Regions from separate parts of the Homo sapiens genome. Here region 1 is linked to region 2. The links are contacts of gene promoters, found by promoter capture Hi-C in human tissues and cell types (Jung and others, 2019). All regions are on one chromosome and are shown on one strand. The core of a region is centred on a gene start or on the middle of the fragment in contact, and the rest is flanking DNA. Distances in the headings are between cores, read along the strand shown.

Region 1 (5,853 bases), core at 1,084-3,583, 72 kb after region 2:
GTGAGCCACCATGCCCAGCTTGGCTAATTAAAAAAAAATCTGGGGAGATGGGGTTCTCACCGTGCTGCCCAGGAAGATTTCAAACTCCTGGGCTCAAGCAATCCATCTGCCTCAGCATCTCAAAGTGACCTCATTTTATCTTAATCACCTCTTCAAAGACCCTGTCTCCAAATACAATCACATTCTGAGGTACTGGAGGTTGGGACGCCAACTTACAAATTTTTGAAGGAGGATGAAATTCAGTTCATAATAGCAGGGATGAGCTTTATGCCCCCTGAAAAAGACATACTTCCCCAGGTAGATTCATCTGTTAGTGTTTTTTGTTTTGTTTTAGACAAAGTCCCACTCTGTCACCCAGGCTGCAGTGCAATGGCACGATCTTGGCTCACTGCAACCTCCACCTCCCGGATTCAAGCGATTATCCTGCCTCACCCTCCTGAGTAGCTGGGATTACTGGCGCCCACCACCATGCCCAGCTAATTTTTGTATTTTCAGTAGAGATGGGGTTTCGCCATATGGGCCAGGCTGGTCTGGAACTCCTGACCTCAAGTGATCCACCTGTCTTGGCCTCCCAAAGTGCTTTCTTTTTTCTTTTTTCTCTTTTTTTTTTTTTTTGAGACAGAGTCTCACTCTGTCGCCCAGGCTGGAGTGCAGTGGCGTGATCTCGGCTCACTGCAAGCTCTGCCTCCCGGGTTCACACCATTCTCCTGTCTCAGCCTCCCGAGTAGCCGCCACCATGCCTGGCTAATTTTTTGTATTTTTAGTAGAGACGGGGTTTCACCGTGTTAGCCAGGATGGTCTCGATCTCCTGACCTTGTTATCTGCCCACCTCAGCCTCCTGAAGTGCTGGGATTACAGGCATGAGCCACCGCACCCGGCCCCAAAGTGCTTTCAAAGTATTGATTCAAAACTATGGCACAATCCCAACCCCACCCCCACTGCTCAGAACCCAGGGAGCATTGGGTTTGGTAGATTCCTTCTTCCACACCCAGAATAAATTTTCTCAGCTCCATTCCCCAAATGATGCTGACTTGAGGCAGGGGAAGAATGCTTTGGTAGCTCAGGGGAAAGGACTGTGGAGTTCCTGTCTTTCCCTCTTCCAAGATCCAAGGGTGCTAGCGACCTTTCTGTGTTCATGGTCAGAAGCAAGGAGGGAGAAAGACCAGGAACCACACAGCTCTTTGTCATCTCACAGGCAGGAAGCATCCAACAGAGGCCAGCTCTGGGGGGCATGCTGGGCCACATCATTTTTGCCAGTGTCCTGGAATAAGGAAGTGTAGGATAGTGAGGAAGGCAGACCGTGGGGCTCCTCCCTACCATGCTCATCAGGGCATCCAGGTGAGGGATGAAGCTGTCCTAAAGTCTTTCCAGAACTCACACACACGTGTCCCCACCTCTCCCCTCCTTGATCATGTCTCCATTTTACGTATTTACTGATCATCTTCTGCTATTGTTAAAGTCTAAGCTGAGGGGTGAAACCACAGCAGAAAGCAAGGAAGGCTCGACCCCAGATCACACAGGGAGAGGTGGACAGACAGCATGGCTCCGCCCATTTGCAGCCATTTCTGGGCCTGTAGGCTCTGGCAGCTCCTGGGATTGCTGTCCTCGGTGCTGAATACGCGTTTGTTGGGGGCACACCTGACAAGTTTGTCATTTTCAGGGAAAACCCAGTCTCTCTCGGCGCTGAGGAGAAAACATGGCACAGCCCTTCTCAGTCCTCTAGCAACCCTGGACTCTGCAGGAGAAAAGAGAGATTCCCTACATTTGTTTCTATGAGAGAAGGGAAGGCTGGAGCAGGGGAGTGGGGGAAATCTCTGCAGTCCTCTCGGAAAGCAAACCCTTCTACACCTGTGATCCCATGTGATTTAGCAGAGCCCTGAGTTAAAACTAGGCCATGATGACACTTGGTGACACAAACATCTGACAAAAGAGCTGTACCCTTTATATTTTCAAAGACTTTCTACAAATTAAGGAAGGCAGAAGACCCATTTAATGGGCAATGGACTTGAAGAGACACTTTACCAAGAATATCCAAATGGCCACAAACACACACACATACACACAAATGGGAATGTGTTCAACTTCATTAGTCATTATGGAAATTAAACCACAAGGAAGCACCAGAACACTGCAGCAGAAGAACTAAAATGGAAAAGACGAACAACCAACTATCTGCAAGAATATGGGGCAAATGAAGCTTCCTCACATTGCTGGCAGGATGGTAAACTGGTAAGCTGCTTTGAGAAATGGTTTGTCAGTAACTACGAAAGCCTAAGGTACGTATACCATCACTCAGCGATTCCACTGCTAGGCAGACATCTGAGGGAAAAAACTTCCTGTGTGCTCCAAAAGACATGGACAGAAATGTTCATGGTAGCTTCATTCATAGTATCCCAAAACTAGAAACATAAAATGTTCATGAAGGGAGGGATGAAACAATAAGTTGTAATACATTCATGCGATAAATAGTACACAGCAATAAAAATAAAAACACCCAGCATGGATCCACATTTCATCCACAATGTTGAGTGAAGAAAGCCAGAATCAAATAACTACATACTGTATAATTCCACTTAGAGAAGTTTCAAGGACAGACTACACTAATTTACGATGATAAAGATCAGGAGACTGGTCACTCTTGGGGAAGGGAGGTACAAACTGGAGGGGAGACAGGAGAACCTGCTAAGATGCAGAAAATTTATTTTTTTTTAATTTTATTTTTGAGATGGAGTTTCGCTCTTGTTGCCCAGGCTGGAGTGCAATGGTGCGATCTCAGCTCACCACAACCTCCGGCTCCTGGGTTCAAGCAATTCTACAGGCATGCACCACCACACCCGGCTAGTTTTGTATTTTTAGTAGAGACGGGGTTTCTCCATGTTGTTGGTCAGGCTGGTCTCGAACTCCCAACCTCAGGTGATCTGCTTGCCTCGGCCTCCCAAAGTGCTGGGATTACAGGCGTGAGCCACCACACCAGGCTATTTATTTTGAGACAGAGTCTCACTCTGTCACCCAGGCTAGAGTGCAATGGCACGATCTAGGCTCACTGCAACCTCCACTTCCCGAATTCAAGCGATTCTCCTGCCTCAGGCTCCCGAGTAGCTGGGATTACAGTCATGTGCCACCATGCCTGATTTTTGTATTTTTAGTAGAGACAGGGTTTCACCATGTTGTCCAGGCTGGTTTTGAACTCCTGACCTCATGATCTGCCTGCCTTGGCCTCCCAAAGTGCTGGGATTACAGGCGTGAGCCACCGTGACCGACTATTTATTTTTTGAGATGGAATTTTGCTCGTCGCCCAGGCTGGAGCACAGTGGTGCGATCCTGACTCACTGCAACCTCCACCTCCCGGGTTCAAGTGATTCTCCTGCCTCAGCCTCCTGAGTAGCTAGGATTACAGGCATGCACCACCACGCCCAGGTAATTTTCTTGTATTTTTGGTAGAGACAGGGTTTCATCGTATTGGCCAGGCTGGTCTCGAGCTCCTGACCTCAGGTGATCCACCCGCCTCAGCCTCCCAAAGTGCAGGGATTTCAGGCATGAGCCACCTCGCCTTTCAGCCCACACAATGAAGGTTTATGAAGCCCCAGATTCCAGGGCCTCCACCACAACCCCATCTCTGCCACACTTCTGGTCCCACTGGGGGCCGTGGTCCCTGCCCACTGGACCCAGTAGGTGTAGGTGTGGGGGTCTGGGCCCCGGGGGGATATACACCTTAGTGTAACAGAACTCAGGGTCTGAGCCTGTATCCTCAGATCCATGACCTGGCCGGGTAAGGAAAGGAAGGGAAGGGGGTCAGGGTTCCTGCAGGAAGGTTATCTGAGTGGCCTTAAACAGACCCAGTTGTCTCTTACTTGTAGTTCTCAAGAGTAACAGTAGAATGTGCTGGGAATGCAACATCCGGAGATATGGAGGGACTGGCCAGGCGGCCTGGGCTCCATTCCTGCCTGCCCTAGAAACAGGATGCCCTTCAATGCTTGAGCCCGGTGACTCAGGTTTCCCCCAGAGTAGAAAACCCAGGGCTGGGTACTTTTTGGGGTCCCTCAGCTGCCATACAAGTGAGGCACACACAGTTGTGACCCTATCCTCCCTAGGCCACTTTCCTAAGCCTTGGGGGACCAGCTTACAACGGACCCTGGGATTCTGCTGTCCCTTGCTGCCCATCTGTGAGAAACAAGCCCACTTCATGTAACTTTTTGCGTGTGGCGTTCTGTCTCATCACTCTGGCAAGTTGGTAACCAGTGCACAGTGAACCTGCTTCACAGACCACACCCCATAGTCCCTGGGCCTCCAGAGCAAAGGGAAGCATCCCCTCCTTCCCACAGCCCTGCTTGCTCTGGAAGGATGCACCCTATCAGTGGGGCCGATGCCAGAGGCCTCCTGAGGCCTCCTACTCCCCAAGCCCAGAGTGCTCTCACCCCTCGCCCGTGGCCTCTGTGAGCGTCTGGCTGGGGCTGTTGACCTCATGCTTCTGGGCCCACATGCTGGGGTACTGCGTCCCTGCAGCCAGGCCCTCCACAGGCACCCTGATGTCTGAGGAGTCACTGGCCCAGCAGAGCCAGTAGGGGCAGGTCTTGGAGTCTGGGCCTGCGGGGCCCTCAGGGTGAGGGAGCTGGTGGTCTGAGCCGGTGTGACCAGGCCAGGGACTAGTTTGGGAATGTGGAAAGGAGAGAGTCATTTGATAAAGTTTGTTTGTGGCTCTAATGAGAATAAAGTGCACAGCCTGGCACTTTTTACAAATGTGCACACGCACGCACGCGCACACACACGCAAACACACATGCACACACAAGTGCACGTGCACACACACGCACATGTTGCTGGGCAGTGGAAAGGTGGCCCCTCTTACCTGTAGACATGCTCAGGACGTCCCTGGGGCCACCTACTCCTTTCTTCTTGGCCCACACAGAGGTGGTGTAGAGGGTCCCAGGCTGAAGCCCTCCACCACGAGCCAGCAGTGTGACGTGCTTGTGTTCCCGCTGGCCATGCCCCTGGACCCAGTAGATGGAAGTCTGCCGGTCTGGGCCCTTGGGGCTGCCCAGCTCAGGGTGATGGAGCTGGAGGTCCGAGCCTCCACACTCACGATTCTGTCTGCTTTGGCGGCTGACATGGGTAGAAGCCTCTGCGGCAAACAGAAGACGGAATCCCACGGCCCTTCCTAGACGTGCAGGATGGAGGCTGATGGGGTCACTAACCTGCTGCTGTGGCCTCTGTCGTGGTCCCGAGGGCCTGGGGAGGGCCCAGATGGGGAATCAGACCCACGGTGGTCTGACCTGCAGGATCGGGATGAAGGCTGCTGAGTCCCACCCCGCCTCATCCCCACCAGCCACCCCGGCTTGGGAGGGAAGATGGAGCCGGCGTTTTGCCCCTTGCCCCAGGTCTGGGTCCCGGCAGGGCTGGAAGGAGCCTGAGAGGGATGTGCGCAGCACCTCCGAGAGTCCCGCTTTAGAGAAACACGAATCAGATCATGAGAAAGCAGACCTCTGAGAAGTCAGATGAAAGGTCGTCGGGGGACCAGAATCAGGGAGGAGGGACACGACGCTGGGGCTGCTGGATGCCGACAGGAGAGCAGCGTCCCGTCGCTCTGGACTGCCGACCCCACAGAGCCCAGGGACCAAAAGCCAGAATGTTCCCCAAACACCAGGGATTATGGGCCCAGCCCCTCCTCCCTCAGACTCAAGAGTCCAGGCCCCCAGCCCCTCCTCCCACAGACTCAGGAGTCCAGCCCCTCCTCTCCCAGACCCAGGAGTTCGGGCCCCCAGGCCCTCCTCCCTCAGACTCAGGAGTCCAGACCCCAGCCCCTCCTCCCTCAGACGCAGGAGTCCAGGCCCCCAGCCCCTCCTCCCTCAGACCCAGG
Region 2 (5,679 bases), core at 170-2,669:
TGGGGGCCTGGCCTCCTGGGTCTGAGGGAGGAGGAGCTGGGGCCTGGACTCCTGGATCTAAGGGAGGAGAGGCTGGGAGTCTAGACTCCTGAGTCTGAGGGAGGAGCGGGCTGGGGGCCTGTACTCCTGCGTCTGAGGGAGGAGGGCTCAGGTCTGGACTCTTGGGTCTGAGGGAGGGGGCCGGCTGTCCTAAAGCATGCATGAGGACAGACCTTGGTAGGTGTGGTCCTGGCACAGCCAGGAGGCTGCAGACCCTGCCCCCTCAGCACAGCTGTCCTCTTTTGTCTTATGACAAGTCCATGGGAACCTGATCCAGTTGGGATTAGGAAGAGGCATTTGAGAAGGGACAGTGGCCTGAAGACAATAGCTGCCCCACCCCCAGGAGCTATTTTGGGGGGATGTCATAGATGGTGAAACCGAGGACATTTCCTAAGAAGGGATTTGAGGAAGGGGGGCTTCTGGGAGAATTAGTCACCCGCATCCCCTCTCCCACTCGCCCCACCCCACTGGCTGGTTTCCTCCCCACCTGTCTCCCCTTTCACCTTCCCATACATCACGTAGGGGGCAGGGGCATAAAGGGCACCTTCTGTCCGTAGACCTCACCCTGACCCCTACATTCTTAGACCTCAAAGTCTTTGAGACACCCTAGGCCACAGGGTGCCTAGCCCCAAATCCCAATACCCACAGATTCTGAGACCCCGATTTATGATGCCCGTGTTTCTGAGGCCAGCAAGTCCTCACAGCTCTGGATTCTGAAATCCCAGTTCTTGATAGTCCAGATATGGGCCGGGACATCCTAAGACCACCCCCAGGTCTTGAGACCTCCTAAAATCTGAAACCTCAAGAATATGAGACCCCCAAAATCTTGATACCCAAACTCGGAGGCCCAGTTCATGATACCCCAGATAATGGCACTCTAAGTTTTCATGCTTTCTATCATAATGTCTCAGATTCCGAGCCCTCCACTACCAAAACCCCAATTTCTTCTGAGACCCCCCCAATTCCTGATACCCTCAGAGTCTGAGGCCCCAAATCCTGACACCCAGATTGTTTGACCTCCAAGTCCAGATATCCCTGACTGCTGAGATTTCCCCCAGATTCCCAGAACCCCAAGATCCTAGGAGGTTTTATTCTGGGACATCCAAGTCCTGGCAGCCCCGGGTTAGGATTTGTGTAACCCACAAATCCTAGTATTTTCCCCTCTATCCTGAGTCCCCCTAAAGTCTGAGCCTCTCAAGTTCCCAGACCTCCAGTTGTATGCCCCACCTACCTCTGCACCATTTCTCCACACCCGACATCTTCCCCACCTGCCTCCTGCCCCCTCCCCCAAGGACATGGTTTTTGAAGACCACAGGGCTCCGCAGAGCCCCTTACCTAGGCTGTGTCTGAGATGCTGTGAATCTTGAGGCTGAGCCTTGCTGAGGGCACTGAAGCTCCGGGGAGTTTATAGCTGGAGGCTCGGGCCCGCCCCGAGGGGAGAGGGAGGGGGAGAGAATTCCTTTGCTCAAACACAAGCCTGGGAGTTCAGAGACAGCCCTGCTGCCCCTGGCTCCACACTCAGAGTCCAGAAGCCTCCGTGGGCCCCTCCCCAACCCCATGCCAACCCCATCTGCATGGCCCAGGAGCCCCGCCCCTGCTCCCACCCCACACCCCAGGCTCCCGTGGTGCTCCAACTACCTCCCTTATAGCTCCCTGTGCTTTGACGTCCCCATGCCCGGCACACAGTAGGTCCTTGGAGGACCTACTAATGACACATGGGCTATAAGGAATGTTTCCTGTTTTCTTCTCTCTGTTCCCTCTTTCTATCTAGGTCTCTTTCTGGACCCCCATTTCTGTTGTCTCTGTGGCTCTCCATCTGTGTGTCTCTGTGTGTCTGTCTCTACTTCTTAGTCTCCTCCTCTGTCTCTGTCCATCTTTTTGTCTCCTCCTCCCACCCCCACCCCTTTGTCTGCCGCCAGGATTCCATCCTGGTGACAACAGGCACTAAAGCCGGGAAGCAGGTGTGGGGAGGGGGAGGGGGAGGGTGGGGTGTCAATTAGGGTGAAACCTACCCTCCCTCCCCACCTCCATCTAACGCTGATCTTTTTTGGTATCCCCCTCCCGCTTCCCAGCCAAGCCATGACCTTGAGTTCTAGGTTCAAGCCAGCCCTGGAGAGCAGGCTTCCTCACCCTCCCCGCCTCTCCGTACCTCTGTCTCTGGTGGTCTCGGTCTTTGTGTTTCTGTGCATTTCTCGGGGCCCCTTGCTGGGTCTGTCTTGGGCTCTCTCTGCATCTGTCGCTTTCTGAGCCCCTCAGTGTGTTTCTCGGCATGTGTCTCCGGGTGGTTTTGTCTCTGCATTTCTGTGGGTGTCTCTGCATGTCTGCCCCTCTCAGCGTTTGTGTCTGTGGGGGCTCACAGTCTCTCTGTGCATTTCTGTCCACCTATGACCCCATTTCTGTCTCTTTTTGGCTCTGGGTCTCTGTGTCTGTGTTCACGTCTCTATCTTTCTAGTTCTCTCCATGTCTCTCTTAGTGCCCGCAGTTCCCCCTCTGTGGCTCTCCATTTCCATCTCTTATAGGGTCTCCATGTCTCTGCACCTTGCTGTGAGTATATCTCTGTCTCTCTTTTCTCCTTTCTTTGCACTTCCTTCTATGCATCTTGTGGTATTTTCTCCCTCTCTCTTTGGGTCTTTGCCTGGCTCCTACTCTCTCTACTCCCAACTCAGTCTCTCTGTTGTCGGTCATGTCTCTCTGCCTGTCTGTTTCTCTGTGTCTCTCTCTCTTTGACCTTTAGTCTTGGCATCTCTGTGCACTCCACATGGGCCAGAGGAGCTGTGACAATAGAGATCAGAAGACTGATGGAATGAACTGTTTGTGGCAATAAGATACCAAATTATAAACAAGACCTAAGGCCATGCCAGGCAAGGGTTAAGCCACGCATCCCTACACTTATATAATCGACTATGTTCCAACTGCCACAAGGCTTTTCCTTTTTCTAGCAGCTAAACAAGCACCGGCCTCAAGATAAGCAATATTACAACCATTGCAGCCATCCATTGCCAGATGCTGACTAGCTGAACCCCCTGTTCCACAAGGCATAACTACAGCATTAGTTGAACAAGAGACTGATTTCAGTAACTTTCTCCTGATAAGATGCCGCAGACCACGGACTGGTTCTGGCTGTTGACAGAGGCTGTGCACTGAGTGTCTTCATATCCCTGCTTCGTGTTTCGATACGAATGCATTCAATGGAATGCACTTAAATGTTAAGCCTCCACCACCAAGTGAAGGTGGGATGCATGTAAAATGTGTTTGCGGCCAGTCGCGGTGGCTCACGCCTGTAATCCCAGCACTTTGGGAGGCCAAGGAGGGCGGATCACGAGGTCAGGAAATCGAGACCAGCCTGGCCAACATGGTGAAACCCCGTCTCTACGAAAAACACAAAAATTAGCTGGGCGTGGTGGTGCATGCCTGTAATCCCAGCTACTGGAGAGGCTGAGGCAGGAGAATGGCTTGAACCCAGGACGCAGAGGTTGCAGTGAGCTGAGATCGTGCCACTGCACTCCAGCCTGGGTGACAGAGCAAGACTCCGTCTCAAAAAAAAAAAAAAATGAGTGTTTGCTTGTCACACATGCGTGTGTCCATGTGTCCACCTGTCCATGAATATTCATAGCTCCTTCTATAACCAGTTGAATACGTGCACTTAGCTAACCCACTCAGCATAAATTCCTGCCTTGCCCTTCCCTCCCTTAAAGTGCCTGCTTTTGTTTTTTGGCAAGAAGCCATGCTTCTGGTCTTCAGGTTGTGATCCGCTTCTTAAGAAACAAAGCTCCGCTCTCCAAATTCATGAACCCCGGGATTCTTTTCAATAACACAGCCAAGAGTGCTTCACATGGGAGACCCATCTGGTCCCCAACCTGCTGTGTGGCTTTGGGGGAGCCCCACCTGCAGTCTTCCCATCTGTCTCCTGCCTAAGCCCTGGGTAATAGACATGGAGTCACTTTCAGCTCAGAGAGAAGCTTTATTCCTCAGGGCCCTCCTCAGGGCAGGGGCAGTAGGCAGGAAGGCTCAGCTCTCAAACTTTTTCTTGCGGCCCTCCATTCCACTCAGTGCATCGATGTTCTTGCGCCAGTCTCCCACCTCCCGGTTTTCCTGGAGGATGGCGATGAGTCAGAGGTTAGGGTCTCTTCTTGGTCTCCAGTCTCTCAAGAATCCCTGTCTTCCCTCCAGCCTGTGGGGCCACTCTACCCTGGATGCCTAAGTATCTAGTTCTGGAGCACTTCCTGTCTTTTCAAGATAATCCCTGCCAATTTTCCCCATGCACTTCCTGTCTCCCTCATGCACTTCCTGTCCCCCTCATGCACTTCCTGTCTTTCCCCAGCACTTCCTGTCTCCCTCATGTACTTTCTGTCTTTCCCCATCCACTTCCTGTCTCCCTCATGCACTTCCTGTCTTTCCCCTCCACTTCCTGTCTCCTTCCTGCACTTCCTATCTTTCCCCTCCACTTCCTGTCTGCCTTATGCCCTTCCTGTCTCCTTCCTTCTCTTCTTATTATAGTAGTCCCTCCTTTTCTGCAATTTTACTTTGTGTGGTTTCAGTTACCTGAGGTAAACCATGGCCCAAAAATATTAAATGGAAAATTCCAGAAATAAACAATTCATAAGTTTGATGGATTCTCAGGTCAATAGTAGCCTAACGCCAGGTCATAATGCCTATGTCATCCACCTCACCTCATCTCAGCACATAGGCACTGTCATTTTACATCACAAGGAAAAGAAGGGTGATTACAGTGCTATAAGATATTTTGAGAAAGAGACCACATTCATGAGTTTTATTACAATCTGTTATAATTGTTCTATTTTATTATTATTATTATTTGAGACAGGGTCTGGCTGCCTCATCCAAGCTGGAGTGCAGTCGTGCAATCTCGGCTCACTGCAGCCTCAACTTCCTGGGCTCAAGCCATCCTCTCACCTCAGACTCCTGAGGAGCTGGGACCACAGGTGTGTGCCACCATGCCCAGCTAACTTTTGTTCTGTTTTGTTTTGTTTTGAGATGGAGTCTCCCAGTGTTGCCTGGGCTGGAGTGCAGTGGTGAGATCTCGGCTCACTGCAACCTCTGCCTCCCGGGTTCAAGCAATTCTCCTGCCTCAGCTTCACAAGTAGCTGGGATTACAGGCACCCACGACCACGCCCAGCAAATGTTTGTATTTTTACTACAGGTGGGGTTTCACTGTGTTGGCCAGGCTGGTCTCAAACTCCTGACCTCATGATCCGCCCGCCTTGGCCTCCCAAAGCGCTGGGATTACAGGCACGAGCCACCACACCCGGTAACTTTGGTATTTTTTATAGAGACATGGTCTCGCCATGTTGCCCAGGCTGGTCTCGAACTCCAGAGCTCAAGCAATCTGCCTGCCTTAGCATCCCAAAGTGTTGAGATTACAGGCATGAGCCACCACGCCCAACCTTCTTTTGTTGTTATTTATTGTTAATCTCTTACTGTGTCTAATTTAGAAATGAAACTTTATCATAGGTATGTATGTGTGTATAGGAAAAAAAATTACATATAGGGTTCAGTACAATCCATGGTTTCAGGCATCCACTCCTATCTTTCCTGTCTTCTTCTTTAAGATAGGGTCTCACTGTATTGCCCAGGCTGGAGTGCAGTGGTGCAGTCATAGCTCACTGCACCCTCGATCTC

What was found. Contacts are between HindIII fragments. The study calls those that stand out against the background at their distance.
Region 1: a fragment that was not itself captured here is called in contact with the fragment with the promoter of TNNT1 in region 2 in 4 of the 25 tissues and cell types used here (IMR-90 fibroblasts, lymphoblastoid cells, mesendoderm cells and 1 more).

Annotation. Positions count from the first base shown.
Region 1 is chr19:55,219,150-55,225,002 of GRCh38, forward strand. No RefSeq gene overlaps it. Among named protein-coding and RNA genes, the nearest start is that of TMEM86B, 6.7 kb to the right of the region's middle. The HindIII fragment of the contact is 5,464 bases long and covers 1-5,065 here.
Region 2 is chr19:55,147,787-55,153,465 of GRCh38, forward strand. TNNT1 (troponin T1, slow skeletal type) reads right to left here and starts at 1,420. Exons shown (of 14, transcript NM_003283.6): 1 at 1,375-1,420. TNNI3 (troponin I3, cardiac type) reads right to left here. Exons shown (of 8, transcript NM_000363.5): 8 at 3,981-4,131. The coding sequence ends at 4,048. The HindIII fragment of the contact is 19,018 bases long and covers 1-5,679 here.